4 separate regions of the Homo sapiens genome follow, and regions 2, 3 and 4 are each linked to region 1. The links are contacts of gene promoters, found by promoter capture Hi-C in blood cells and fetal thymus (Javierre and others, 2016). All regions are on one chromosome and are shown on one strand. The core of a region is centred on a gene start or on the middle of the fragment in contact, and the rest is flanking DNA. Distances in the headings are between cores, read along the strand shown.

Evidence for each region. The method cuts DNA at HindIII sites, captures the fragments that hold promoters and counts their contacts. A CHiCAGO score of 5 or more calls a contact.
Region 2: a fragment that was not itself captured here is called in contact with the fragment with the promoter of SAP30L-AS1 in region 1 in 1 of 17 cell types (total CD4 T cells); the score reaches 6.5 in total CD4 T cells.
Region 3: a contact is called between a fragment that was not itself captured here and the fragment with the promoter of SAP30L-AS1 in region 1, in 1 of 17 cell types (total CD4 T cells). The highest score is 6.3, in total CD4 T cells.
Region 4: a contact is called between a fragment that was not itself captured here and the fragment with the promoter of SAP30L-AS1 in region 1, in 1 of 17 cell types (non-activated CD4 T cells). The highest score is 9.5, in non-activated CD4 T cells.

The regions. Positions count from the first base shown.
Region 1 is chr5:154,441,276-154,448,336 of GRCh38, forward strand. It overlaps SAP30L-AS1 (SAP30L and GALNT10 antisense RNA 1), which reads right to left and starts at 4,547. Exons shown (of 3, transcript NR_037897.1): 1 at 4,463-4,547; 2 at 2,087-2,205. SAP30L (SAP30 like) reads left to right here and starts at 4,722. Exons shown (of 4, transcript NM_024632.6): 1 at 4,722-5,530. The coding sequence starts at 5,330. RefSeq lists enhancers at 4,346-4,465, 4,519-5,019 and silencers at 4,596-5,125, 5,256-5,365. The HindIII fragment of the contact is 8,481 bases long and covers 1-7,061 here.
Region 2 is chr5:160,426,169-160,433,229 of GRCh38, forward strand. It overlaps PTTG1 (PTTG1 regulator of sister chromatid separation, securin), which reads left to right. Exons shown (of 6, transcript NM_004219.4): 5 at 1,547-1,705; 6 at 2,434-2,571. The coding sequence ends at 2,513. Among named protein-coding and RNA genes, the nearest start is that of PTTG1, 7.8 kb to the left of the region's middle. RefSeq lists an enhancer at 6,262-6,351. The HindIII fragment of the contact is 5,478 bases long and covers 1-4,116 here.
Region 3 is chr5:160,402,497-160,409,557 of GRCh38, forward strand. SLU7 (spliceosome associated SLU7) reads right to left here. Exons shown (of 16, transcript NM_006425.5): 7 at 6,154-6,201; 8 at 5,833-5,964; 9 at 5,475-5,572; 10 at 5,250-5,317; 11 at 4,980-5,119; 12 at 3,972-4,133; 13 at 2,535-2,639; 14 at 2,313-2,384; 15 at 1,944-2,060; 16 at 1-968. The coding sequence ends at 789. Among named protein-coding and RNA genes, the nearest start is that of FAM200C, 6.0 kb to the left of the region's middle. RefSeq lists a silencer at 2,293-2,493. The HindIII fragment of the contact is 2,522 bases long and covers 2,661-5,182 here.
Region 4 is chr5:160,124,450-160,131,510 of GRCh38, forward strand. No RefSeq gene overlaps it. Among named protein-coding and RNA genes, the nearest start is that of PWWP2A, 8.5 kb to the left of the region's middle. The HindIII fragment of the contact is 527 bases long and covers 2,938-3,464 here.

The sequences.
Region 1 (7,061 bases), core at 3,297-5,796:
CCAGGATTCCAGCATAAGCTGACTACATCTAGATTTATACCAACCATTATGCTGTACTGCCTCTTGATTCCAGAGGCCAAGTCATCCATCATCCATCTATCCATCCATTCAACAAATATTAATCAAGTGCCTGGGCACTGGAAACTATGATGAGCCATAGAGACAGTTCCCTGTCCTTGCAGAACTTCCAGTCTCAGAACAATGTGAAAGGAAAATGAATCTCGGGACACCAAAATCACTAAGGCAAAGGGAAGAGTCAAGCTGGAAACTGCATCAGGCAAACCTACCTCTTATTTTATTCCTAAGTTAGATAGCTACAAAGATAAAAAAGCTACAGACCTCCCTCACAATTTGCCCACAAGGAAATTCCTTGTGGGCATCAAGATCTTTACCCTAAAACAGTTCTGTTGAATTTCACCCTGGCAATGTAAATGGATAGCTTATCTTCATAGGTGTGGGACAAAGGACAGAACTCAAAGTCATCCCTCTGCTCACCTGAGACAAATGAATATCTGATTGCTTCTTCTGCCCTGTTGTTTATGTAAAAATGCAGATCCACTGAGACAAAGGCATAAATGACTATTCCTCTACCACCCACCTCACCCCTTCCCCACATGTAAATTGTATATTCAGTGAAACGCTGAGCAAAGACTCAAAAGAATGCAACCATTTGTCTCTTATCTATCTATGACCTGGAAGCCCCAGCATCAAGTTGTCCTGCCTTTCCAGATGGAACCAATGTACATCTTGTACATATTGACTGATGTCTCATGTCTCCCTAAAATGTATAAAAGCAAGCTGTATCCCAACCACCTTGGGCACATGTAGTCAGGACCTCCTGAGGCTGTGTCACGTGCACGTCCTTAGCCTTGGCAATATAAACCTTCTAAATTGAGACCTGTCTCAGATACTTTTGGTTCATGCCAACATATCTATGAGTACCTTACAGAACCCAAGGGCAAGCTCAACTACCAGGCCCTGGGGAACACAGGAGGCAGGACCCACCATTAGTGCCTCTGCTCTAACCACTCCCACCAACCACCTGTCAGTTCCAACCAGCAGATTTGCTGGAGAGAAACTGACCAGTACAGTTTGAGCCACAGGCTTAACCCAGCAAGTATTCACTATTAGACAATCAGGGGCCACTCAAGGATTAGAAACCCAGTCACTGGACACCTAAGTGTCCACCTGTTCCCAAAGAAGGGCAGTCATTGGAAATCACTCCCAGAGCCATATGCCACATTCCCCAAAAAGGGAAAAGAGGAGAGAAAGAGGAGAGCAAAGAGCTTTTGTAGGACTGTGACTGCTTGGCCAAGGTATCCAACTCTGATTCTTTAAGGCGTGTTGGGGGATAACTTCTCAACTGGGGCCTGACTGGATGGAAGGAATGAAGGTGGGGAGGGCAGGGGCAGAAAAGACAGGAAAGAAAAAAAGGGTCAGTGAGCCTGGCCCTTAGACCTTGGAAAACTTTGTAGTCTTTGACCACAATTCCATCTCTGGCACTCAGAAAAAATAATAATCCTAAATAATAAAAAGTTTTATGTTCAAAAATAATTATACAGAACCACACAAAAAAGATATCCAACTTCTGGGGGGGCAAATGTAACTACGGTAGGAATCATGATAGCTGACATTTATTAACCACTTATGATGTTCTAGGCACTGTGTTAAGAATTTGTCACCACCTATTTCATCAGACTCAAGAAGTGAAATAATTGCTAACATGTTATAACAAGTCATGGGTGGAGTCCAGATCTGAACCCAGTTCTGACAGCAAAGCCAACTGTCTTTAGCACCACAGTGTACTGTACTACAGAAACTGCACTGTACTACATAAAAAATGGCAACTGTGAAAACTACATAGCAATATGGGGAAAGATTATGATAAAGTATGCCTTGAATAAAGACTACAAAATTATACATAAAGAATGGCTGGGAGCGGTGGCTCACACCCGTAATCCCAGCACTTTGGGAGGCCGAGGCGGGCAGATCACCTGAGGTTGGGAGTCCGAGACCAGCCGGACCAACATGGAGAAACCCCATCTCTACTAAAAATACAAGATTAGCCGGGAGCAGTGGTACATGCCTGTAATCCCAGCTACTCGGGAGGCTGAAGCAGGAGAATCGCTTGAATCCGGGAGGCAGAGGTTGCGGTGAGCCGAGATCGCGCCATTGCACTCCAGCCTGGGCAACCAGAGTGAAACTCTGTCTCAAAAGAAAAAAGAAAAAAGAAAAAAAAAGAACAGTTACAAGCATGAACTCCCCCACCACCACCACCACACACACACACACACACAGAGGCTGGCTGGGCGTATCAGGCTGGGTGTAATCAGGAAAGAGTAACCTTACAGTAATTTGAACAGGAAAATAATAATATAAACATGTATTAATTATAATAGGGGACTGTAGTCCCCTACAGTTATAAGGAACTGCCTAGTAAAAAGAAAAAAGAATGCTAAATAATACAAGAATAGCAGATATAAGTAGCCACTACCTCAAGGACTGAGACAGAGCACCTAAGAAAAGGTCCTAGATCCCCTTAGACCAGGGCAAGTTGGTGCAGAAGAAGTTGTGTACCGCAATAGCCTAGCATTGAATACAAATGCTGTTTAGAAAAATATGGGGAACATGGAGGTTTCATCCATACCAACTGACTTTGGACCCAACATCACACAGTGCCTGGTACAGATACCCAAGTGTTTTCTACATATATGTCTGAACACCCCAGATAGGAGATATTCTTTTAGGGCAAGGGTTATGTTTCATCCTCCTCCTATAGCCAACCCTATACTTGGTATACATAATGAGTTCAACAACAATTTACTTTTGAACAGAATATATGAACTCTGAGGGAAGACTCCTATTAATCTGTGCCTTTTTTCCATTAATTTTTATTCTATTTTTTCTACTGTAAAAACAAAAATAATGCTTATTAAAGAAAATGCAAAGGTTAAACAAAAGGAGAAAAATATCAGCCATATTCCTGCTACCCAGAAATAATCACTGTTAGTACTTTGGTGCATTTTTTATACCAATAGTTTTCTTTTTTCTTTAAACATAGATGTACAGACATCGTATCCTCCATGCAATTTCATATCCTGAATTTTTTTACTTATCATAAAAAAAGCATTTCTCCAACTCCTCATCAGCTCTTTATTTAAGAATTAATGGTGAATTATTCTCTATAGAAAATGTTTACATTGATGTTGAAACTACCTCAAATGCTAACTGCACAATCTCTTTCTGAAGATTTTAGGTAGTTTACTTAACCACTTCCCTTTTGGAACTCTGAGGTTCTATTTTATTTTTCCTATTATAAATAATTCCATAATGAACATCACTGTACTTCATATTATCTCTGATAGGCCTATTTCCGACGATGGCTGTCCCACGTGTGAAATTACCAGTTCAGATGCTACAAATGCATTTATGGCCACTGAGCAAAACTTAAGATCACCAGCCACCTGCTTCTAAACATGGAAACTGGTAGCTTTCCCTTTTACAACAGGACACAAACCCGAAGCTCCTTCTATGCCCTCTAGTACTAACACTTGCTTACCTATCACCTAACACAGCCTCCCCTCTTCCCTGCCCATAAAACGCTGCCCAGCCCTACATAATTACACGACCCTGGGCTGGTCCCATCGCCTTTCGGACCTCATCAGTCCCCATGCTGCGCAGTTGGAGAGTGGCATGACTGAAGTGCTGGACCAGAGCATATCCTACGGCCCCTCCTGGAGGGGAGGTGGTGCCCTGGGCGCCGAAACCAAGCGCAGGGTCTTGGCAGGGCGCAGTCGCTTCGCCGGTAGACCCGGGGACTCAAAGCAATAGAACTACAGCTTGGAGCTCCAGGGAGAGCCCAAGACACCGCAGCCCTTCCCCATCTAGATTCCGAGATTGGCCCCTGGGCCCCACTCCCAGCCTTCACTTCATCTCCCCTGAAGCCCTTTCTCTTGCCCGCGGCTCACCTAGTCCACCCTCCAGACCTCATTCGGACTTCCCATTCTTCCCAGTGGAGGGGTCGCCCAAACCCCTCGGGGTCTCCTTTCCCCCTCTCCTTTTCTTTCCGCGCCGTCCAAGCCAGTCCCACTCTCCACACTCTGGAAGGTATCGGCTACCCCCAATATTGCGACTGCCTTGCAAGATCCCCCCATCACCTCCTCCGCATGTCTTTCCACGTATCTGTATGGGGTTGTCCCTCTGTCTTTCCCGCCATGACTGGCTTTCCGTCCTATTTCACCCACCCTTCCTCCCACGGATCCGCGAGTCCTCTGGCCCTGGCCCTTTCATTTTATTAGTCCGCCCCTCTCCTGATAGCACCTCTATCCTCTTTAGGTCCCCTCATATGCCCCTCCTCCAAGTCTGTCCCTCAGCGTCCCCGTCCGCGTCTCTACTGTCTGTCCCCGAATGTGTTCCTCTGTTCCTGGAGTCTGGCCCTCGGTCCAGCCAGGCCCCTGCTCACCATCCCTCCCCCGGGCCGGAGAGTCTGCAGCCCGGTTCCCGGTTCTCGCTGGGGTAACTCTTTCCTCTTCCACTTTCTCTACTTTGAACCCATCCCAGCAGAGTCCAGGAAGTAGCCTGGCGCCGGAGACTGGCGGCGGCGACGCCCAATGGGACGCGCCAGCGGCGGCGGCAGCCCCGCCCAGAGAGCAAATGAGACCAATGGTCGCGTGAAGGCGGGACTTCCGCTGTCCCGCGAAGGGCGGGGGGAGCGAACTGTTGTGGTGCGGAGCGTTCGGCGGGCGGCGGCCGGGCGGCCCAGGGGCTGCCGCGGGACTCGGGGCGCAGCCGAGTGGCTGCAGGGGTGGAGTGGGCCGGACGAGCCGCGGGGCCCGGGTGCCGCGGGTTCGAGGCCGGGCCCCGCGCGAGGAGGCCGCGCCACCCCGGGGGAGCTGCCCGGCAGCGAGTTTGCCCCGCTGCCGAAAGAAGGCGGGAGCCGGCAGGGGCCTTCGAAACCCCCTGGCAACCCAGGCCCGGAGTCCTTGGGGAGCGGCTGTTTCCTGGGACGCCCTCCCGGACACCCCCGCTGCAGGGTTACGGTTCTGGGCCCCCGGCAGAAGGCTCCTCCGGGTGACCCCCGGCGGGGCCCTGCGAGCCGCGGGAGCCGACCCCGGGGCCTCGAGCCGGGAGGAAGGGGGCTTCCGGAGGCGGAGGGCCGGGGGCCGAGGGAGCCGGGCCTCTCGGACGCGGGGCAGGGCAGCGCCCGGGCTGGAGACGGACTCTGGGACCCTCGGCTGCGGGGGTCTCAGCGACCTGCCCCGCGGCAAGCGCGGCCGCGGAGTGGCCTACCGGGGACCCTCCCCCAGAGGGACCGGCCCGGGGCGGGGAGATGAACGGCTTCAGCACGGAGGAGGACAGCCGCGAAGGGCCCCCCGCCGCCCCAGCTGCCGCCGCCCCGGGCTACGGCCAGAGCTGCTGCCTCATCGAGGACGGCGAGCGCTGCGTCCGGCCCGCGGGCAACGCCTCCTTCAGCAAGAGGGTCCAGAAGAGCATCTCGCAGAAGAAACTCAAGCTGGACATCGACAAGAGCGTGAGTCCGCCCCCGCTCGCGTCTGGGCCCCGGCGCCCCCAGCTCTCCGTCCGCTGCCCTGGGCTCCAGTCGGGACTCCCCGGGCACTCCCCGCCGTGGGCCTCGCCGCCCCGGCTCTGCAGAACTGAGTTGGACTCCGCATTTCAAAGGCCGCTCCAGCGCTGACATGCTCTGACTGTGATTCTACCCAGATCCGGGAGGATGGGGGCGGGGGCTTCAGGACTCCTGCTGCCTGGAAAGATTGGACAGCAGTTTCCAACTTGTTTTATTGGTTTAGACTTTAGAGCAGGGAGAGGTGGGTTAGTTTTGTTGGCCCTTGAAGGAGCAAGAATCGGAGCGGGGAGTGATGAAGATACCCGGCTCTTTTCCAACTTCTCTCTCCTTCTAGGAACCCTGTTATTCCTTCAGACAGAGAAAGGTGGCAGTTACTTCCCTGGCTCCCGCATCCTCGGTATCAGCAGAGGGTCACCGAGCTAGCTGCTTCGCAGGCAGCTGTGGGAATGGGTTTTTCTAGGATGTGGCAGAAATAAGGCCAAGGCCAGGTCTTGAGAAATGGCTCTTGCAGTCGATGTGACTGGAGGGGGGAAGAAAAGAAATCAATTTTCTTAGTGGTAGTTTCTTTTGAAATAAGGGGGTGGATATTTAAATTTAAATCGGATTGCCCTGCTCTTTGTGGCTTATTATAGGAAACTCCTCCCGTGTGACTTCACCACTTCTAGTTAACAATTCTGAAGCTGTGCCTATTGTCAACCAATTAAGAACTTTTTAGTTTGACATCTGTTGCTACAAGCCTTAAGTGATTGCTTCATGATTAGGAATTGGAAATGAGTTAAGGGGATATTTAATATTCAGGTAGACTAGCTAAGAGCTTAGGTGGTTAACATCCATTCTCTTCTAGAATCAGAATTTCTCCACAGTTGGAGGAAATCAGAGACTGCTTGTTAAACTGAAAGGGAGTGCACGTTTCCCCTCTGATTTTAGGGTTGAAACAGGCCCAGAGATAGGAAGTGAGGGTGTCAGGTACACACAGCACCTAAGAGGCTGGTTAATTTCTTAAAGATATTATCTAATTTACTTCCAAGCCCTATACATAAGTCTTCATTAAGTCTCTAATAAATAAAAAATCTCCCCTGTCCTTTTTCTTTTCTTTTTTTTTTCTTTTTCTTTTTTTTTTTTTTTTTTTTTTTTGAGACGGAGTCTCACTCTGTCACCCAGGCTGGAGTGCAGTGGCAAGATCTCGACTCACTGCAACCTCCGCCTCCCGGGTTGAAGCGATTCTCCTGCCTCAGCCTCCTGAATAGCTGGGATTACAGGCGTTTGCCGCCATGCCTGGCTGATTTTTGTATTTTTAATGGAGATAGGGTTTCGCCATGTTGGACAGGCTGGTCTTGAACTCCTGACCTCAAATGATCCACCCGCCTAGGCCTCCCAAAGTTCTGGGATTACAGGCGTGAGCCACTGCGCCCAGCCCCTGTCCTTTCTTCAGACTCTTCCCTCCTACCCCCATTTTTAAGTTAATCATTATAATACA
Region 2 (7,061 bases), core at 128-2,627, 6.0 Mb after region 1:
ACTTAAGATATTTATTCACTAAGTAATCACATTACATTAATGTAAATTTTTTTTTAACATAAAATATTTTTTGTTCTGGAAAAGTTTGGAGAAGAATGGCATGGTTTATATTTTTGAAAATTTGCTTTATTTGGCTTAATACAAGACAACTGGATTCTTATCAAATTCTATATTCACTCTTACATCTGTTAAAATATACGAAGAAAACCTGGCTTCACACAGATACGTTTTTAATAGTCTTTTCAGATAAGTGTGGATAGGTTTTTTTGCCACTACACTAAAACCCACAAGTGGCTGTTTCTGAATATAAAATTGCAATGTGGAATCTGAAACCGTATCAATGAGCATTTTGTATCTTGACAGTAAAATCCATTGGTCTATTTTGCACTTGGAATGTATCTTATATTCTTGCATCTATCTTGCATTGACCATTCAGAAATACTGGTTCACTGAGATATGTAGATACCCACATGTTGAGATGCTTTATTATACAATATCAAAAGCACATTAATACCACAACTGATCTCATCAGAAAAGTCTAAGCACCTGTCAAGCTAATGACTGCAGATAAGTTTTCCAAAATTCCTTTTTTTGGCCAGATGCAGTGGCTCACGCCTGTAATCCCAGCACTTTGGGAGGCAAGGCGGGCGGATCACCTGAGGTCACGAGTTCAAGACCAGCCTGGCCAACATGGTGAAACCCCGTCTGTACTAAAAATACAAAAATTATCCGGGTGTGGTGGGCGCACCTGTAATCCCAGCTGCTTGGGAGACTGAGGCAGGAGAATCGCTTGAACCCAGGAGGCAGAGGTTGCAGTGAACGGAGATTGTGCCACTGCACTGCAGCCTAGGTGAAAGAGTGAGACTCTGTCTCAAAAAAAAAATATTCATTTTTTAATTTTTGACAAAATTTTAACGTTTTATATTCTGCCATTGGCAACAAAGGCTGTCAGTTTTCCTTGAGGTGATAGACTTCTTTCATTCCTTTAAGAAAAAGTGTGACAAGCACCCAGGTCTGAGTGACCATGGGATTTCTTGCAGTTGTTAATTCAAGTAAAAACAGTATTCCAGGAAAATGTTCTCTAGTTTTAGCTTGCAACTCATATAGTTGCACAAATCCTTTTAATCGTATTTTGGTGTACAGTGGAAGTGCTTTATGGCATACTTCTCATTTTATCACACAGAACATTAAAAAGACATCTCAAGGATGGAGAGCTAATAAAATTAATACTTTCTACTGCATATGGTGAAGTGACAGTAAGTGAAACTGGCATTTTTAAACTACAAGCGAAGAAGGATGCAGAACAGAGAGACTGCTAATATGGTTTACTGTCACTGCCTTGATTTGTGTTGAGGCACCAGCAGCTTTCTCCACCGCTGCCTTGGTACCATCATTACAAATGTCAACCCAGTGGAAAAAGGTGTGAATATTGTCTTGAAAATAGTTTTGACCTCATGGACCCCCTCAAAGGGTCTCAGACCACAAGGGATCTACAGCCCACACTAAGAACTGCTGCCCTGACAAAAACGCTTTCTCTCTGTAACAGACTTTGAGAGTTTTGACCTGCCTGAAGAGCACCAGATTGCGCACCTCCCCTTGAGTGGAGTGCCTCTCATGATCCTTGACGAGGAGAGAGAGCTTGAAAAGCTGTTTCAGCTGGGCCCCCCTTCACCTGTGAAGATGCCCTCTCCACCATGGGAATCCAGTAAGTGAGCAAGTGCCCTTCTGGAAGGGCTGCAAACAATTTGTTTCATAACACTTCCATTACCATGGGAAGAGTTGTGCGGGAGGTGAGCCTGTGAGTAATTTCTGTCCTTCAAATGACAAGGATTAGTTTTCAGAAAAATAAACTATTCTCGATTAATATTGCTTTTCAGTCCCAAATGCCCCAGTAAAATTGTTATTCTGGAAACTGGATAGTCTTACTACAGCCAAAAGATTAATTCTCACTTACATCTTCTTAGGCTATAAGTTGAAGCATATATAATAAACTTGCTTGGAATGATGATTCCATGTTATATCCAAAGCTAATATAAGATCAAAACACCTGTGCTGTAGCATAGACTGACAATAACTTCTTACTGCAGAAGGTCTGAGGTCTTCGTTTGAACTGGTAGTCAAAGCCAACATTATGTTTTCTGTTTGTTCTGATGTGGGATAATTTGTCCTAATAAGTTACATTAGTGAGACTGTTAACTCTTACTTTGGTCTCTAAGAACAATAGAGATTCAGATACTTCTAAAACTTACTTCCTAATGAAAGTCAATTCTGGGGCCACAGACACATTCCAAAAAATGTGTCAGGAGGGGATGCAGGTGATTGATTTGACAAAGGGAAAAACATGAATTTTTGATTGACAGCTAATGTCTATGTTGATATGGACAATGACTCAAGGATTTGCAGAAATTTTAATAAGAGATTCCTGTTTTCTAGATCTGTTGCAGTCTCCTTCAAGCATTCTGTCGACCCTGGATGTTGAATTGCCACCTGTTTGCTGTGACATAGATATTTAAATTTCTTAGTGCTTCAGAGTTTGTGTGTATTTGTATTAATAAAGCATTCTTTAACAGATTCTTCCTAGTATTGTGGTTGCTTTTCCATGGAGGTTACTTAAAATAACATGAAAGCTAGCTGAGGTGTTTAACAAAGAGTCTATAATGTGACAATAGAGATTTGTCTGATGTCTAAAAACTTAAATCTTTTTGGTTTAACAGCTTATTTTAGAAGCTGCCACTGTTTTTTCCTGAAAAGTATACCCCTCAATGTGTACTTTATTGACTTTTTGTGGCCATTAACTAGTGACAGTTATTAGATCTCTTAATTAGAAGAGCTACTTCCAACTCATTAAGTATCTATTGCTGGGCATTCTTTATTGCCGGTTCTACTTAGTTTCTAATGACTTTAATACTCAGTATTGAAAGGCTCTAAATCTGAGAATTCAGCCTCCTTGGGATCTTCAATTAGATTCCTTAAAGATCACTGGAGATAATTTACTGATAGTAAGGTCTACACTCCACCTATAGGAAACTGTATTTAGTTGTTTACCTTGTGTTGGACATGAGTATTTGAGAAGCATTATTATGTTTAATGTTTGACACTTTCCCAGGTAAGACAATGAAGCGCAGAAGTTCATTGATTTGTCAAAGATGTGAAGAGCTAGAAAATTATTAGAGCTGGTATTTTGATCTCAGTTCTGAGGTTGGAATCAAAATAGAGATGGCAAATGGTTGCTCATAGGTTTTCTTTTTGAGGGAGGGGGTGGATATTTTAAAAACCTTAATCATTTCCACTATTTAAAATTCCAGTGTTTCACCAATCTGGCTTTGGAGATTCTCTTGAAAAGAGATGTGTCCATAGTAGACCCTGTTTCCAACACTTGCTGGGGCTGGAGGTAGATTGCAGGCTGCTGCCTTTTAGGTGGAGTATAGGCTTTCTATCCCACAGACCCTGCCTTAAATGGCCTCAGTGAGAACTGAAGTGATCCTTTTACCTTTCATGTCTCTTCTGAGACCTAGCCTACTTAACTCACTTTACTCGCTTGGGCCATGTAGTAACCTGAATTTGACCCTTGCTTGATGCTAAGTTATATAAGAAGTCTTTCCCTTGATATATCAGTAGCTTCTATGGTCAAGTTAGAATGTGAACACTTTGCCATTGTCATTGGAGGAAGCTGAAGGATATTAGGCATGAAATACTAAGAACACCTACAACCGCTTATCCTGACTTTAAAACTTTTTACCTTCTAAATACAACTGAATCAGTGTGACTTTCTGGAATTAGTGGAAAGGCAGACTTCTAGGAGAAGATAATACCATAAGACTACTAGGGCACTTGGCTTTAGGGGAGAGTAATAGGTTTAGCATCCTCAGGTAAAATAGGGCTGCTAAGAAAACCAAAGTATAGGTTGGACACAGTGGCTCACACCAGTAATCCCAGCACTTGAGAGTTTGAGGTGGGAGGACTGCTTGATCCCAGGAGCTTGGGTTCAACCTGGGCCATGTAGTGAGACCCTTGTCTCTCAAAAATTAAAAATAATTAGCCGGGTGTGGTGGCGCATGCCTGTAGTCCTAGTTTCAGGAGGTTGAGGCAGGAGGATTGCTTGAGCCCAGGAGTTCAAGCTTACAACTTGAGTGGCTATAGTCATGCCACTGGGTGGTAAAGTGGGTGGTAGAGTAGCCTGGGTGGTAGAGTGAGATGCTGTCTCACAAAAACAACAAAAAAAGCAAAGTGTAGTTCTGAATGGCTTTCATACTCTGCAACACAAACTGAAGCTTTGGAAAATTGTCTTTTGTGGTAGAGGGAACCAAGGGCTGGGAGCAAGGGGACTAGTCAGTCCCTTACCAGTTAATTGCCGTCCTCTGGGTCAGAACTGAGTATAGAGGGATCTGATCTTTTCATCTGCTGTTAATCAGATTGCAATGTGCATAATGTGTGCTGAGACTGAGAACTTTAAGCAGATGCTCCTCCATTAATACAGATAATTTGCATCTTGTGGGGGTTGTTGCTATTTTGTTCTGACACTTTTTGAAATAAGACAGACTTTATTCATACCTTTACAACTCTGTAAACCTTCTGCATTTCTCTACACTACCTCTGAGCCTGCCTCTCAGGATACTGTACCTTCTTATAGTAGGAGCTAACAGTCAGGAATGCCATTATCTTGCTACCATTTCTTCTTTCTTATTACAAGTTGTATTTTTCTACTTTCCATGCCAGCCATGGATTTTACCTTTTTTCATGCTGGGTATTTTTACATTTCTATTAATATTCTTAAACTTTGTTCTAGAGTATGGGTAAGGTACCTAGAAGCAATTTGATTCATTTGAGACTTGCCTTTAATGTTAGGCATCACCAGAGCAGCATTTAGCCCAGGGCTCATTTCCCCCTACTACTGAAGTGTGAGATGCTTAGGACTCTGCTGCCCCCTGAATTATGAGGTTTTCCTGTCTAGCTGGTGGGAGCAGACACTATTCCCAGCCCTGTGTGGGCTTCAGGAATTCTTCCCTCTGATCTTTTCAGCTATATGGATCAGTGCTCTTCTGAATACTACAGGGAGACCCTCTGCAAATTTCCAGGGTTCTCTCTGTGCAGCTCTCTCCTCTCCAGTGCTCTGCTCTGCAAACTTGGCCTGCCTTGGCCTGACTCTGCTCTGTCTCTTCAACTCAGGAAATTCACTGGGCTCTGCCTGCCTCCCTTTCTTCCCCACTCTGAGGCCTGGAAACTCAAAAGTAGCCAGTAAGGATAGTCATCGGCCTCACCTCACTTATTTCACATTCCTCAGGCATCGCTGTTCTCTGTCGCCTGATGTTCACTCTTTGGGCAGCCCTCATTTCATATATTTTGTCTTGTTTTTTAGTTTCAGGCAGGAGAGTAAATCTGGTCCCTGTTACTCCATCTTGATTGGAATTGAAAGTTCCTTCTAGATATTCCTTTCATTTTTTTTCTTTTTTGAGACGGAGTCTTGCTCTGTCGCCCAGGCTGGAGTGCAGTGGTGCAATCTTGGCTCACTGCAAACTCCACCTCCCGGGTTCATGCCATTCTCCTGCCTCAGCCTCCCGAGTAGCTGGGACTACAGGCGCCCACCACCACGCCCAGCTAATTTTTTTTTTTTTTGTATTTTTAGTAGAGACAGGGTTTCACCGTGTTCGCCAGGATGGTCTCGATCTCCTGACCTCGTGATCTGCCGGCCTTGGCCTCCCAAAGTGCTTGGATTACAGGCGTGAGCCACCATGCCCGGCCTTTTTTTTTTTTTTGAGGTAACATTCACATAAGAAAATTCATTTAAAAATGTACAATTCAGTGGCTTTTAGTTCAGAGTATATGCAACTATCACCACTGTCTAATTTCAGAACACTTTCATCACCCCCAAAAATAAACCCATGCTCATCAAGCACTCATTCCCCACTTCATTTACTTTGGAATGATGTCCCTCTGCCACCAGGATGAAGTCTGAGTTGCTCAGTGTGGCTCACACGGCCTTGTGGTGGCTCCTTGGGGGTGTAATTTCCTGTCCTGATTCACCTGGCCAAACCTGTCCATCTCTAGTACTCCAATGAGATGCTTTTCTTACCAGAAGCCTTTGCACTTACCATGCTCGGCTGTGTCTGGTCCTCTCCTCCGCTCTACTGGGAGCAGGATGAGGTGTGTCCTGTGCACTGGTGTATTCTCTGCCTGGCATGTGGCAGGTGCTTCAGGGACTTGCTGAAATGAGTAAAGATGTCATCAGTCCCTGGGGATCCAGGTTTCTAGAGACCCAGCGACTGCACTGTACCCACTGTTAGCATCACACGGTATCAGGGCCAGGGAGCCTGACTTCAAGGTTTCCAGAGAGAGAGTGGTGGGGGCAGGCACAGGTCTAGGAGGTCAGCTTCTCCTACCCTAGACAGTTCCTGGTCACCTGTCTGTCTGTGCCCCACCAAGCCCAGGTATAACCTGTTTACTGAGAAGCTCCAGCTCTGCTGGGGAAACATAAACTGAGTTTCTTTCTTTTTTTATTGCCACCAACTGTGTTTTGTTGACCTGTTCTCCTTTCCTCCTTTCTGGGTGGTGGGTGATGCTGAGCAGCATTCAGACAGATTTCATAGCTTTCCAGTTACTTTTGGTTAAAATTAAACTTTGCTTATTTTAAAACTTGAGGTTCACACCTATTTCAGGCTCTTCTCCCTCTCCCCTAGTACAGGCGAGGGCTTGGCAAAAGCCCATGTGTATGCTCTGCTCACCACACATGTCCCTTCTCCCCTTCCGGTGTTATGACCCTCATAGGGGCTTAGTCCAGCCCCAAGCCTGGGAGGACGGCTGGAGGGAGAAAAGAGTCTGCTCGTGTGACAGGCCACTTGTTGGTTATGGGAAGTGTGCTGGCTTCGTTCTGGCTGTTGTGCTCTGCACGATGCTGGTGGCCTCTGCTCATGGGGAGGTCCTTGTGTAGAGAATCACCCTCTTCTCCACGGCTGAAAACCCTGTCCCTCCTGAGAATGGCAGCCTGCCTCTCTTCCCACACCTTTCCCAGGTGGGCCCTTCTATTCCTTGGTCCAGGGGCTGTCCAAGGCCTCTGCCCTTCCATG
Region 3 (7,061 bases), core at 2,672-5,171, 6.0 Mb after region 1:
ACATAGCAAGATCCTGTCTCTAAAAAAAATAAAAATAAATGTAGTCACAGAGTTGCTAGTAATTATTTAAAAAAACAAAGCCCTGTTTTTTTCTCAAAACCAAGGTGTGCTAATACTAAATATAGGGCCACAAAAATCGAAGCAATAAAGTTTGAAGCTTAATAAATACAGAGAAAGAGACATTCTTAATAGGTAGAGAGCCAAGGCTTTTTTACATGACTCACATAAAACTGGAAATAGGCCAGGCGCGGTGGCTCACGCCTGTAATCTCAGCACTTTGGGAGGCTGAGGCGGGTGGATCACAAGGTCAGGAGATCGAGACCATCCTGGCTAACACGATGAAACCGTCTCTACTAAAAATACAAAAAATTAGCTGAGCATGGTGGCGGGCGCCTGTAGTCCCAACTACTAGGGAGGCTGAGGCAGGAGAATGGCGTGAACCTGGGAGGTGGAGCTTGCAGTGAGCCGAGATCGCGCCACCGCACTTCAGCCTGGGCGACAGAGCAAGACTCCGTCTCAAAAAAAAAAATAAATAAATAAAAAAAACTGGAAATAAAATCTTAATCCAATTTTAAATTCTATTCCCAAAAGCACACTTCATGTGCCTCTTCTTCTTTTCTTGTTTCCTCAGTATGGAAAGGAGTGAACTTACTGTGAGGCATCTGAAATATTTATTAAAGCCAGGCAGCAAGAAGAATAAACAAGGATTTTTCTATCTACAATCATCAATAAGAAGCTGAAAAGAATGTATCAGCTGCATCTATCTTGGATGGTCTTCTGACTAGTTGCTACTGTCCAAGGAAAGAGGCCATGGGGTCATCTGGCCTCTGACGTTTCATTCTATATGCCTCCATTTCCTCTTCAGTAGGTTCTCGAGTTTCATACATGCTATTGTAAGGCCGCTTCCTCTCATCAATCTGCATGGTCTCCTTGACATGAAGAAGGCGGGCCTCCTCTGCGTTCAGTGCCTATAGTGAGAGGAATAAAATGTGTATCACAGCTCTACATCAGATGTCTTTTCTTCAAAAGTGGCAGAGTACCAACACACCCCACTGAATATGAACTGCTCTATCAAAAACGCAGATTGCCTGAAAGAGCTTTGGAGTCAGCCCTTCTACTGTCAAGCTACAACTAATCACTATTTGGCTTATATGATATTTTTATACAGCACAAAACATTCTATAACATTTTAAATCAATGTTGAAGAAATTTTATTTAATAACAAAAATTAAATGAGGTTCACTTTACTTATACAAGCTCACAAATGATGCTTCTGGTAGAGACTACAATTCTGACTTTTCTCAAGGACTTGCCAAAACTTACAAACTACGGAGCTAGAAGGCAATTCTTTCCGGTCAACATGCCAATAACTCTAAAATGCTTTAGAATGCACATTTCTTCTGTCCATTAGTCATAATTACTAAATACTCCAAGAAGAAGGCAATACCTACACCTCACAATATCTCCATTAATATAACTTGAGCAAATCACTCAGACTCTAGGCTTGTTTCATCATTGTAAAAATGCATTTGGAGACAGGACTAGATCACAGGCCATTACAAATAAAGGCCTTGACAAATAATACTGGCAAGAACGGTGGCTCATGCCTGCAATCCCAGCACTTTGGGAGGATGAGGTGGGCAGTTCACCTGAGCTCAGAAGTTTGAGACCAGACTGGGCAACATGGTGAAATCCTGGCTCTATAAAAAAATACAGAAATTAGCTGCACATGGGGGCATGTGCCTGTAATACCGGCTACTTGGGACACTGAGGCAGAAGAATTGCTTGAGCCTATGAGGTGGAGCTTGCAGTGAGCTGCGGTCGTGCCACTGCACTCCAGCCTGGACAACAGAGCAAGACCCTGTCTCAAAAAAATAAAAACAACCCAAAAAACAAAGAATACTGCTACTTGTCACTTTTACTATTTAGACTTCACAAATTACCTTTTTCAATTTTTCATGCTTCTTTTCTTCATCATCACTATCTGAACTGCTCTTTCGATGCTTCTTCTTTTTCTTTTTCTTCTTCTTCTTTTCCTCTTTCAGTTTTTCTTGATGCAGCTGAAAGGGAGGATTGAAATGCAGTGTTATTAATGTGAAAACAAAGCTCAGGTGCACTACTTGGGCGGCTGAGGCACAAGAATCACTTGAACCCAGGAGGCGGAAGTTGCAGTGGGCCCAGACCGTGCACTGCGCTCGAGCCTGGGCGACAGAATGAGATTCTGTTTCAAAAGAAAAAAAAAAACTCAGGTGCAGGTTTTAAAGCCCTCCCTCCAGGACTTAAAAATTCAGGACAAATGATTATCAACTTACCTCCATGAGGGTTTGAGGTTTTTTCACAGATTCTTCCCCAGTTATCTCATTTATAATACACTCCTCAGAGTTCTGTGGGAAATACATGTAATTTGAGTTGAGTGTCATAGTTACTAATCATCTAAGAACAAGTTAAAATTTGAAACATGAGACAGCATGTTTTAGTTTGACTTAGGAGCTTCGGTTGTTTTATACCTTTAAGAACCAAAGACAATTACTTACAACAATCTCCTTCCCAGCTTCTCCAGTACAATAGGAATACTTGAAAAAAGAGTGACAGCATTTGTATCCCCATCGGCCTTCTTTCCAGTACGATCCCCAGATATGCTGCAGAGAGAGAAATTAAAAAGCTTAAAAAGGAAGCTGAAATTAGAAACTTCTGTATACTGTTGATAAGAGTATAAAATAATACAGCCCATTAAAGGTAATTTGGGAGAAAAATTATGGGGATTCAAGGCTGGCTAACAGGGAGAAGGTAGTCTGACCTGAAGTGTGAGAAGCAGGACCTGTAGTTACAAAACTCTTAAATTCTATTCCCAAAAGCCTATTAAAAAATTTAGGGTATCTGACTTCTCTTGAAAAACGTAGGAGTGGGAAATTCTGGGCCTATATAACCACTTGGCAATAATCAGCTGTTGCTGAACAGTGGATGCCCCATTAGATAGGGCTTGTGTTCTCCAGTTTGTACAATTTGCCTGGCTCACTTCACTCATGTATGATCACTGGTCTGGCTCCTATAGGGAGTTAGGTTTTTGACCCTCAACTAAGAGAGACAATTGTAGTTTGGTTACTTCAAGAGAACAGCAAAGGACAATATATGCTTTATGATGTTTACAATGCAATATGAATATACTACATTACTTATTAAATATTCTTGTCAAAATATTTAACTTATATCCAATCAAGCCGTTAGACCTAAATTCCTATTTATAAAACATACAGGGATAGAGAAACAAGTTATATAACACTACTAGGAACCAGTCAATACAGAATATGAGACAATTTACAAACTAATTGGCCTAATCTGTTAAATGGTCACCGTCATGAAAATGAAGAGATACACTCTAGAAAAGAGACATAATAACCGCATAACGATCAAAAGAAATTTGAAACGAATTCTGACTAAAACAAAAAATAGGTGTTAAAGGCATTTTTCTGTATATTTTGGAAAATGTGATTAATGACTAGATATTAGGTGATATAATGTTAATTTTCTGAAGTGCAATAATGTCGATGTGGTTATATAGAAGAAAATCCTCATTTTAAGGAGATATGTGATACAGCGTTTATGGATAAAATGTCATGATATACATAATTTCCAAATGTTTCAGTCAAATAAATATATACATAAACTATATGTGTGTATATATGTGTATTTTACATATATATGTAAAACTGTGCATATGCACACATACAACTAGACAAAGCATATAAGGCAATATGTTAAAAATTTCAGAATTTAGATGATGGGTATATAGATGAACATAGTATTCCTTCAAAATTTTTCTATTTTTGAAAAAATTCCATGAAACAGTTAAAATTTTTTTTTTTTTTTAAAGCATAGAGAATACAAATGGTTAGCTAATAAAGTTGTAGTGGAAAAATGCAATACAGAGCAAAACCAACAAGGACACAAAATTGTTCCAGTTTAGCACATACTGTGTGATTGTGGATCTTCACATCCTCCTCATACTTAGAGCAGGCAACAGCCCGCTCCTGTCCTTTGATGACTGTCCCATGTCTTGAGTACTCCACATAGTCTTCAGTCTGGGCTAAAAGCAATTCAGCTGGAGGGGCATCCAAATGTTCTTGGCCACCATACTAAAAGGACATTGGACATTATTCAATACATTTTACAACCTGATTTGCATTTAAATTTCCAGAAAACATTTATTTCTAATCAGAAAGAAAGGGAACATTCTTTACTGGGTTTTGTTATAGAAAGCACAGTAGGAAAAAAAAAGCCACAAATTTTTTCTGAGGCAAATAGAAGATGTCTCAGTTGCTATTCATCTGTTGAGTACAGTAAGTTACAAGATGGCCATAAATTCCTCTTATCTTTCTATACATGCCCTTTTGCCACAGGGCTTTGCTTTTCTTCCCATCAAGAGACGAAGTCTTTCTCTGTCCCTTGAATCTGGGCCTGACCATGTTATTTGCTTTGACCAATGAAAGTTGGCAAATGTGATGCAAGCAAAGGCACTTATGTACCACAGCACACTTTTTGCTGCCACTCTCTAGAACTCTGAGAATGCCATTTTAAAAAGCTGTGCTACCCTACTAGAGGATGAAAGACCACATGGGGTGGAGATGAGCTGTCCCAGAAGAGGTCCCCTTAGGACAATTAGCCTGTTAACTGCTAAACACAAGAGTGAGGCCATCTTAGTTCATCATCTAACCTCAGCTGAGCAAGCCCAGACCAGGAGACTTGGCCAACTGTGAGAAACAATAAATGTTTATTTTAAGCTATTAAGATTTGAGGTAGCTTGTTTTGCTGCAAAAGCTCATACAAAATTACCATCTGACTAAGAGAAAGGAAGAAAAGGACTATTCTTCATGGATTAAGAGGGCTCTCTTTGCATTATTTTCCAAATGTAAAACTAACGCTTATTAACTAGTAACTTCTCTTTAACAGAAGTTCTTCTTTAGCATTTTGGTCAAAATTACCTTTTCCAGGATGCTTTCTTTCTGCTGTTCTTTGAAATCTTCTTTTTTGACTTTGAAGGACTTATACAACAGCTCTAGCTTTGTAGGATCTGCCTGTAGATGCACTTCAGATCCCTTGTCATAGGCTTCCCATGCAAACACTAGAGTAATTCAAAACATCTTAGTGAGTTGGCAGCTGCATTACTGTATGCTTCTTGAAAACAAGCTTTAAACAATCCCAAACGTCTTATGAGCTGATATAAAATGGCTTGACATAGAGGAAACACTTACACTGTGTCTGAGCCATTGAAATGGTATCTCCTGTGTACCTAACAAAGTTATCTCCAGCATAACTCACTCTGTAAATACAAATAAAGAAAATGTTTCAGAGATTGATTTAAGGAAAATTAATTCGTAAAACTGAATCTGAATTAAAATGAACACCATCTATGGTCAGGTCAGAAAACAATTAACTTTCTCTCATCTTAAAATCTGTACATTTAACTTGATACTTACTCATCTGGATTCTTTCCTGCATTGGCATAAGGATTCTCTCTCATTGCTCTAGTTTTTGGATCATAGTAGGCAGAATTTGGATCTAAATTCCTCAAATACTAGAAGAAAAAAATATTTAAAGAATTAATGTTTACTCACAGCAAAAAGATTTCAGCAGACTAGTTGGAGGAGTTGAACATGATCAATTAAATAAATGTGTGTATACATTTCTGGGGTTCAGGTGAAGAGAAAAAACAGAATGAAACCTTATCTTAGAATGACTCTGACTATATTATCCATATGCTACCCAGAGTCGATAAAATTTATGCTGGGAAGACAAGTATTTTTCAAATATGTATGTTAAGCTGACAAGACTTACTTTTGCAATATCTTCTCGAATCCTGAGATTCCGGACAGTAATTCGTCTCTTGGAGTCAAAATTCTGTCCAGGCATGTCAATATCATCTGCATATTTATCTTCATCCTCATCTTCACTATTATGATCTTTTTCCTAAAAGAGGGAGAGGAAGGAAAAGTAAGAAGAAAAGAAAGCAGCATGTAGTTCTTTTTTTTCCCCTTTCCCTTTAACCAAACCCTTATTTACTTGTGTTCTTTAAAAGCTATTATTAGTGTTATTTATTATTAGCCATCAGAAATTTAAAAATTTAACATATACTCAGAGACAGCAAATATGTATTACCATCTGAGAATTTGGTTCCTCTTCTCCCCACTGGTGTTTTGGAGAATTCTGCATCATGAAAGAAGAAAAATCATTCATAATCTCATTCCACTTAATCCAATTAACTTTATTATTAAGATAATAAAGTATTATTATCTTATTATAAATAATATATTTATATAATAAAATATATTTTATTATATATTATATTTATATTATATATAATAAATATTTATTATATAATATATAATATGTAACTTATAAATAAGTATTAAGATAATAAAACTTAATTCTAACTGAACAAACTCTCACACTTCTCAGTTATAATGAGCGCAAAAATTCTGAATACAAGAGTGCCATTGTAAATAATTTTATTACACTGTCTATAAAGCCAGCAAATTTCAAGAGAATTTTAATTAAGATTATAACCACAAAATGGTAACAGAAAGATTAAGATGTCCAAAGTACCCAATAAATATTAATTTCTAAATGTGTTAGTCTTCAGACATACTGTATTCATTAAACGTTACTAGTTTCCTAGTAAGTCCAAAAAGAAAATATTACTGGGTTCATGTCTTCACAGCCAAAGTGAAGTTTGGGCAATGAAAAAAATCTACAAGTGACACAGTATTGTAATTTAAGGAGAGGCCAAACTCCTTGTCACAAGGATACACTTTTCTTCGCTAGCAATTGGTCAGAATACTTTCTAACTCCACAGAATGCCTACACTAACGTGGTATTTCATCATGTCCCTTCATAAAGGCTTCAAAGATTAAAAATACTTAAAAAAAAAGAGAATACATTATAGCATTAGTGAGGAGATGCAGAAACACGTGTATGTATATATACTATATAGATGGAAGCATAAATCTGCATGGCTTTTCTGAATGATGGCTAAGTGATATGTCATAAAAATTTTAGAAATACAA
Region 4 (7,061 bases), core at 1,951-4,450, 5.7 Mb after region 1:
ATACAAAAAATTAGCCAGGCGTAGTGGCAGGCTCCTGTAGTCCCAGCTGCTCTGGAGGCTGAGGCAGGAGAATGGCATGAGCCCGGGAGGCGGAGCTTGCAGTGAGCCGAGATCGTGCCACTGCACTCCAGCCTGGGCAACAGAGCGAGACTCCGTCTCAATAAATAAATAAATAAATAAATAAATAAATAAATAAATAAATAAATAAAATAATATAAATAATAAAAAAATAAATAAAACTGTATCTGACTCCCCAGTCATCCTCTGACTACCTATATGATCTGAGCATGATCTTAGGCAAATCACTTAACCTATTTCCTCATTTGTAAAACATCTTAATAATAACTACTTACCAATAGAGATTACTAGGGGGGTTTTTGTTTTGTTTTTCAAGGCTGAGTCTTGCTCTGTCGCCCAGGCTGGAGTGCAGTGGTACAACCTCAGCTCACTGCAACCTCCACCTCCCAGGTTCAAGCAATTCTCATACCTCAGCTACCAGAGTAGCTGGAATTACAGGCACCCACCATCATGCTCAACTAATTTTTTGTATTTTTAGTAGAGATGGGGTTTTACCATGTTGGCCAGGCTGGTCTCAGACTCCTGACCTCAAGTGATCTGCTCACCTCAGCCTCCCAAAATGCTGGGATTACAGGCATGAGCCACTGCACCCGGTCTGTTTTTTTTCTTTTCTTTCTCTCTCTCTCTTTTTTTTTTTTTTTTTTTTTTTTTTTTGAGACAGTCTCACTCTGTCACCCAGGCTGGAGTGCAGTGGCACGATCTCAGCTCACTGCAACCTCCACCTCCCAGGGTCAAGTGATTCTGCCGCCTCAGCCTCCCAAGTAGCTGGGGTTACAGGTGCCCACCACCATGCACAGCTACTTTTTGTATTCTTAGTAGAGATGGGGTTTCTCCATGTTGGCCAGGCTGGTCTCAAATTCCTGACCTCAGGTGATCTGCCCACCTCAGCCTCCCAAAGTGCAGGGGTTATAGGCATGAGCTACTGCACCCAGCCTGGTCTGCTTTTTTATTTATGTAACATATATAAATAATTAGCGTAGACCTTCAATTATAGCAAAAATAGTTCAATAGTTGTTAGCAACTAAGTCCAAAAACTCATTCTTGTATCTGTGGTTGATCATACTCAAGGGGTGCTGATCCTCAATAACCAAACTTGAGTAAGTCTAAGTAAAAACCCAAACACAAGGGTATTGGTCCCTGGAGAGGAATAACTATGGCTAAATATGGCTTAGTGGTTATCTCTGGGCCTGGTTTCTCAGGAAATAGAATTATAGACAGAAGATAACATGGGGAACATGGCCATCAAACCATAGGGGCTGAGTGAATTGCTCCTCGTGTTCTGGGCCTATTTCTGATGAGGTAATCAATATTTCTCTTCTAGGCCAGGCGTGGTGGCTCACGCCTGTAATCCCAACACTTTGGGAGGCTGAGGCAGGTGGATCACCTGAGGTCAGGAGTTTGAGACCAGCCTGGCCAGCATGGTGAAACCCCGTCTCTACTACAAATACAAAAATTAGCCGGGCGTGGTGGTGGGTGTCTATAATCCCAGCTGCTCAGGAGGCTGAGATGGGAGAATCACTTGAACCGGGGAGGCAGAGGTTGTGGTGAGCCAAGATCACGCCATTGCACTCCAGCCTGGGCAACAGAGCAAGACTCTGTCTCAAAATAAAAAAAAAAAATAAAAAAAATAAAAAATTATCTTCTGGAATTAGATCACCTGCTCCCAGACCAAGGCTGTGATGGGTAACTAATGACAAATATGTCATTTGTCATCTCTGCCTCTGCCTCTGTGTGTGTGTGTGTGTGTCAGTCAGTAGTTCTGAATGTATCATGTATAGGGGGAACTCTCTGAGAATCTGCTAAAAAGTTATTTTGTGCATATTATATGATTTTTTTTTTTGAGACAGAGTCTTGCTCTGTCACCCAGTTTAGAGTGCAGTGGTGTGATCTCAGCTCACTGCAACCTCCAGCCCCTGGGTTCAAGTGATTCTCACGCCTCAGCCTCCCGAGTAGCTGGGATTATAGGTGCTTGCTACCGCGCCTGGATAATTTTTGTATTTTGTATTTTTAGTAGAAACAGGGTTCCACCATGTTGGCCAGGCTGGTCTTGAATTCCTGACCTCAAGTGATCTGCCCACCTTGGCCTCCCAAAGTGCTGGGATTACAGACATGAGCCACTGTACCTGACCGATACTATTTATATATGGTACAAAACCAAACAAAACAAATTTATGCTGTTTGAAGTCGGGATGGGGGTTACTCTTGATAGGAGATGATGGGGAGCAGCACAGCTAGTGACGGAAAGAGAATATGAATGGTGCTTTCTGGGGTTCTGATAATTTCTGATTCTTGATCTGGGTACTGGATACACAAGTATGTTCAGCTTGTAATGATTCATCAAGCTCTGCACTTACGTGTACTTTTCTGTAAGTAAATTTATATCAGTTATCTATATCTGCTAGTGGTATTAGTGTCTTAACAACATACATTTATTTCATCACCATGCTCAGAGTGAGAAACCTAGGCAAGGCTTAACTAAGTCCTCTCTCTTCTTTTTTTTTTTTCCTGAGACGGATTCTCGCTCTGTCACCCAGGCTGGAGTGCAGTGGCACGATCTCGGCTCACTGCAAGCTCTGCCTCCTGGGCTCATGCCATTCTCCTGCCTCAGCCTTCCAAGTAGCTGGGACTAAAGGTGCCCGCCACAATGCCTGGCTAATTTTTTTGTATTTTTAGTAGAGACAGGGTTTCACCATCTTAGCCAGGATGGTCTCGATCTCCTGACCTTGTGATCCACCTGCCTCAGCCTCCCAAAGTGCTAGGATTACAGGCATGAGCCACTGTGCCCAGCAAAATCCTCTCTTTCAGTCTCTCACAAGGCTACATATCAAGGTGTCAGCTGGGGGTGTGGTTTCATCTGAAAGCTTAACTAGGGAAGGATCCATATGATGATTAATTTTACGTACCAGTTTGACTGAGCCAAGGGGTACCCAGATTAAACCATATTTCTGGGGTGTTGAGAGAATGTTTCTAGATGAGATTAGCATTTGAATCAGTGGACTCAGTAAAGTGGATGGCCCTCAGCAGTGTGGGTGGGCATCATCCAATCTGTTGAGAGGCTGAATAGAGCAAAAGGCAGAGGAAGAAGGAATTCACTTCTTTTGCTGCCTGCCTGCCTGCCTGTTGGAGCTGGAACATTAGTCTGCTCCTGTCCTTGTACTGGGATGTACATCATCAACTCCCCAGATTCTCAGGCATTTGGACCTGGACTGGAATAACACCAGGCTTTCTTGGGTCCCCAGCTTGCACATGGCAGTTTACGCAACTTCTCAGCCTCCACAATCAAGTGATCCAATTCCTTATGATAAATTTCTTCCAAAATATTTATATTTGGGCATATGTATTTTGAAAGTCCATTTCCAAGGTAACTCACATTTTCATCTACAGCAAGCTTGTTCAACCAGCGGCCCATGGGCCACACGCAGCCTAACGCAAATTTGTAAACTTTCCTAAAACGTTATGAGATTTTTTTTGTGGTGTTTTTTGTTGTTGTTGTTGTTGTTGTTGTTGTTGTCGTTGTTCTTCAGCTTTTGTTAGTGTAGTGTATTTTATGTGTGGCCCAATTCTTCTTCTTCCAGTGTGGCCCAGGGAAGCCAAAAGATTGGACACCCCTGATTTATAGGATTCAGTTCCTTGGTGGCTGTTGACCAGAGGCTGCCCTCAACTAATTGCCACGTGGGTCTGCTCCATAGGACAGCTCAAAACATGCAACTTGCTTTGTCAGAGTAAGCATACAAGAAGAGCCAGAGGAAAAATTGGTGTAAGCAAGAAAGAAGTCGCAGTATTTTGTCGTGTGATCTCAGAAGAGGCATCCCAGCACTTTTGCTGCACTCTGTTCAGAAGCAAGTCACCAGGTCCAGCTATTTACAAGGAGAGAGGATTCCACAAGGGCATGTATGCCAAGAGGCAGGGATCACTGAGAGCAATTTCAGAAACTGATACCACACAACTTAAAAGTTTGAAGAAATGAAAACAAAAGATTTCAAATGGGCTGGGCACGGTGACTCATGCTTGTAATCCCAGCACTTTGGGAGGCTGAGGCAGGCAGATGACCTCAGATCAGGAGTTCGAGACCAGCCTGGCCAACATGGTGAAACCCCATCTCTACTAAAAATGCAAAAATTAACCAGGCGTGGTGGTGGGCGCATGTAATCCCAGCTACTGAGAGGCTGAGGCAGGAGAACCGCTTGAACCCAGGAAGCAGAGGTTGTGGCGAGCCAAGATCACGCCATTGCACTCCCGCCTGGGCAACAAGAGCGAAACTCCATCTCAAATAAATAAATAAATAAATAAATAAATAAATAAATAAAACTTCCTGCTCTATATGGATACCACACATCCCTTACCACCTGCTTCTGATAACAGATTCTCACTTCACACCACAGGTGAAAGAGCCATCATATTACAAAGGTAAATTTCAATATTAAGGACAATCTCCATAATAAGAGCCAACATTAATCCAGCCATTTATGAGCACTATGTGTCAGGCAGAGACAGCCACCAGATGAGCTTGGGGGAATCAAGTAATAAAATGTGGGTCCTATCCTGAAACATTTTGCCCATAGTCTTCGGGTGTCCTTTCACACAGCTCCCCCTTTTTCTTTGTATATTCCTAACAATTCCCATGTCAACATAATTCCTCAAAAATTGACCCCACAGGCACCACTGTGGAGGGGGTGGTTCTAGGTGAACCATTTGGTTTGCCTGGGACTGAGGGGTTTCCTGGCATGCAGGACTTTCAGTGTTAAAAGTGGGATGCTGCTGGGTGCGGTGGTTCACGCCTATAATCCCAGCACTTTGGGAGGCCAAGGCAGGCAGATCACGAGGTCAGGAGTTCGAGACCATCCTGGCCAACATGGTGAAACACCGTCTCTACCAAAAATACAAAAAAATTAGCCGGTGTGGTGGCACATGCCTGTAGCCCCAGCTACGTGGGAGGCTGAGGCAGGAGAATCCCTTGAACCCGGGAGGCAGAGGTTGCAGTGAGCCGAGATCATGCCACTGCACTCCAGCCTCACAATAGAGTGAGATTCCGTCTCAAAAAAAAAAAAGTGGGCCAGGCTTGGTGGCTCACGCCTTTACGTAATCCCAGCACTTTGGGAGGCCAAGGCGGGCAGATCACAAGGTCAGGAGATCGAGACCATCCTGGCTAACACAGTGAAACTCCGTCTCTACTAAAAATATTTTTTAAAAAAATTAGCCAGGCGTGGTGGCGGAAGCTTGTAGTCCCAGCTACTCGGGAGGCTAGGGCAGGAGAATGGCGTGAACCCGGGAGGCAGAGCTTGCAGTGAGCCAAGACCGCGCCACTGCACTCCAGCCTGGGCGACAGAGCGAGACTCTGACTCAAAAAAAAAAAAAAAAAAAGTGGGACGATGCTGGGTAAATCGTAATGGTTGGCCAGGCTTCATGCAATGTGTCTTGCAGAAATGAACACTAATCCTTGCAACAACCCAGCAAGGAACCGACGCCTCAGAGAGGTCAAAGAAAACTTTGAAAGCTGGAGATGGAGATTAGGATGGGACTAGGCCTGTCAGTCTCCAAAGAATGTACTCTTGGCAACTTTGATCTTTTGGCTATTTTTTTGTTTCCTTAGTCATCCCCTGGGACAGGATCCTTGGGCAAATGGCTTATTGGTGTGCATTTTTTGATCAAACCTTCTAGTTCCAAGCCCACAAGTCAAATCTGACCTTAGATTCTAAACATCCCTGATTGTACCCATCCCCTTAAAAAAAATTCTAGGAACATTTATTTACTTGACTTTCTTCTCAGCTATTAGATTGTTCTTTTTTTATTTTATTTATTTATTTATTTTTGAGACAACGTCTCCCTCTGTCACCCAGGCTGGAGTGTGGTGGTGCGATCTTGGCTCACTGCAACCCCTGCCTCCCAGGGCCCAGGTGATTATCCCACCTCAGCATCCTGAGTAGCTGGGACTACAGGCACATATGACCATGCCTGGCTAATTTTTGTTTTTTTCTGTAGAGACAGGATTTCACCATGTTGCCCAGGCTGGTCTCGAACTCCTGAGCTTAAGCAATCCACCTGCCTCTGCCTCCCTAAGTATTTTGGGAGGCCAAGACAGGAGAATCGCCTGGCCAACATGGCAAAACCCCATCTCTACAAAAATACAAAAATTAGCTGGGCATGGTGGCATGTGCCTGTAATCCCAGCTACTCAGGAGGCTGAGGCAGGAGAATCGATTGAACCTGGGGAGGCAGAGGTTACAGTGAGCTGAGATTGCACCATTGCACTTCAGCCTGGGTGACAGAGCAAGACTCCATCTCAAAAATAAATAAATAAATACATAAATACATAAATAAATAAATAATCACAAAATTGCTGGGTCCAGTCGCTCACGCCTATAATCCTAGCATTTTGGGAGGATCGTTTGAGCCCAGGAGTTCAAGACCAGCCTGGGCAACATAGTGACTCCTCATCTCCCTCTTCTCTACAAAAAATTAAAAAATTAGCCAGGTGTGGTGGCATGTGCCTATAGTCCTAGCTACTTGGGAGCCTGAGTGGGGAGGATTGCTTGAGCCCGGGAGGTTGAGGCTGCAGTGAGCTGTGATCATGCCACTGCACTTCAGCCTGGGTGACAAAATAAAAGAATCACAAACCTGAGATCATTTTGATAGAATTGCTTCTCTGCCATCACAGTTATTCTCTGTCTCAGTTTCCCTATCTGTAATATGGGAATGATAAGTCATTTCTTTCTTTTTTTTTTTTTTTTTTGAGATGGAGTCTCACTCTGTCACCCAGGCTGGGTGATTCTCCTGCCTCAGCCTCCCTCCTAGCTGAGATTACAGGTGCCCGCCACCACACCCAGCTAATTTTTGTATTTTTAGTAGAGACGAGGTTTCACCATGTTGGCCAGGCTGGTCTCGAACTCCAGTACTCAGGTGATCTACCTGCCTCAGCCTCCCAAAGTGCTGGGATTACAGGCATGAGCCACCACACCTGGCCAATCTACTTCAAATACTTGCTGT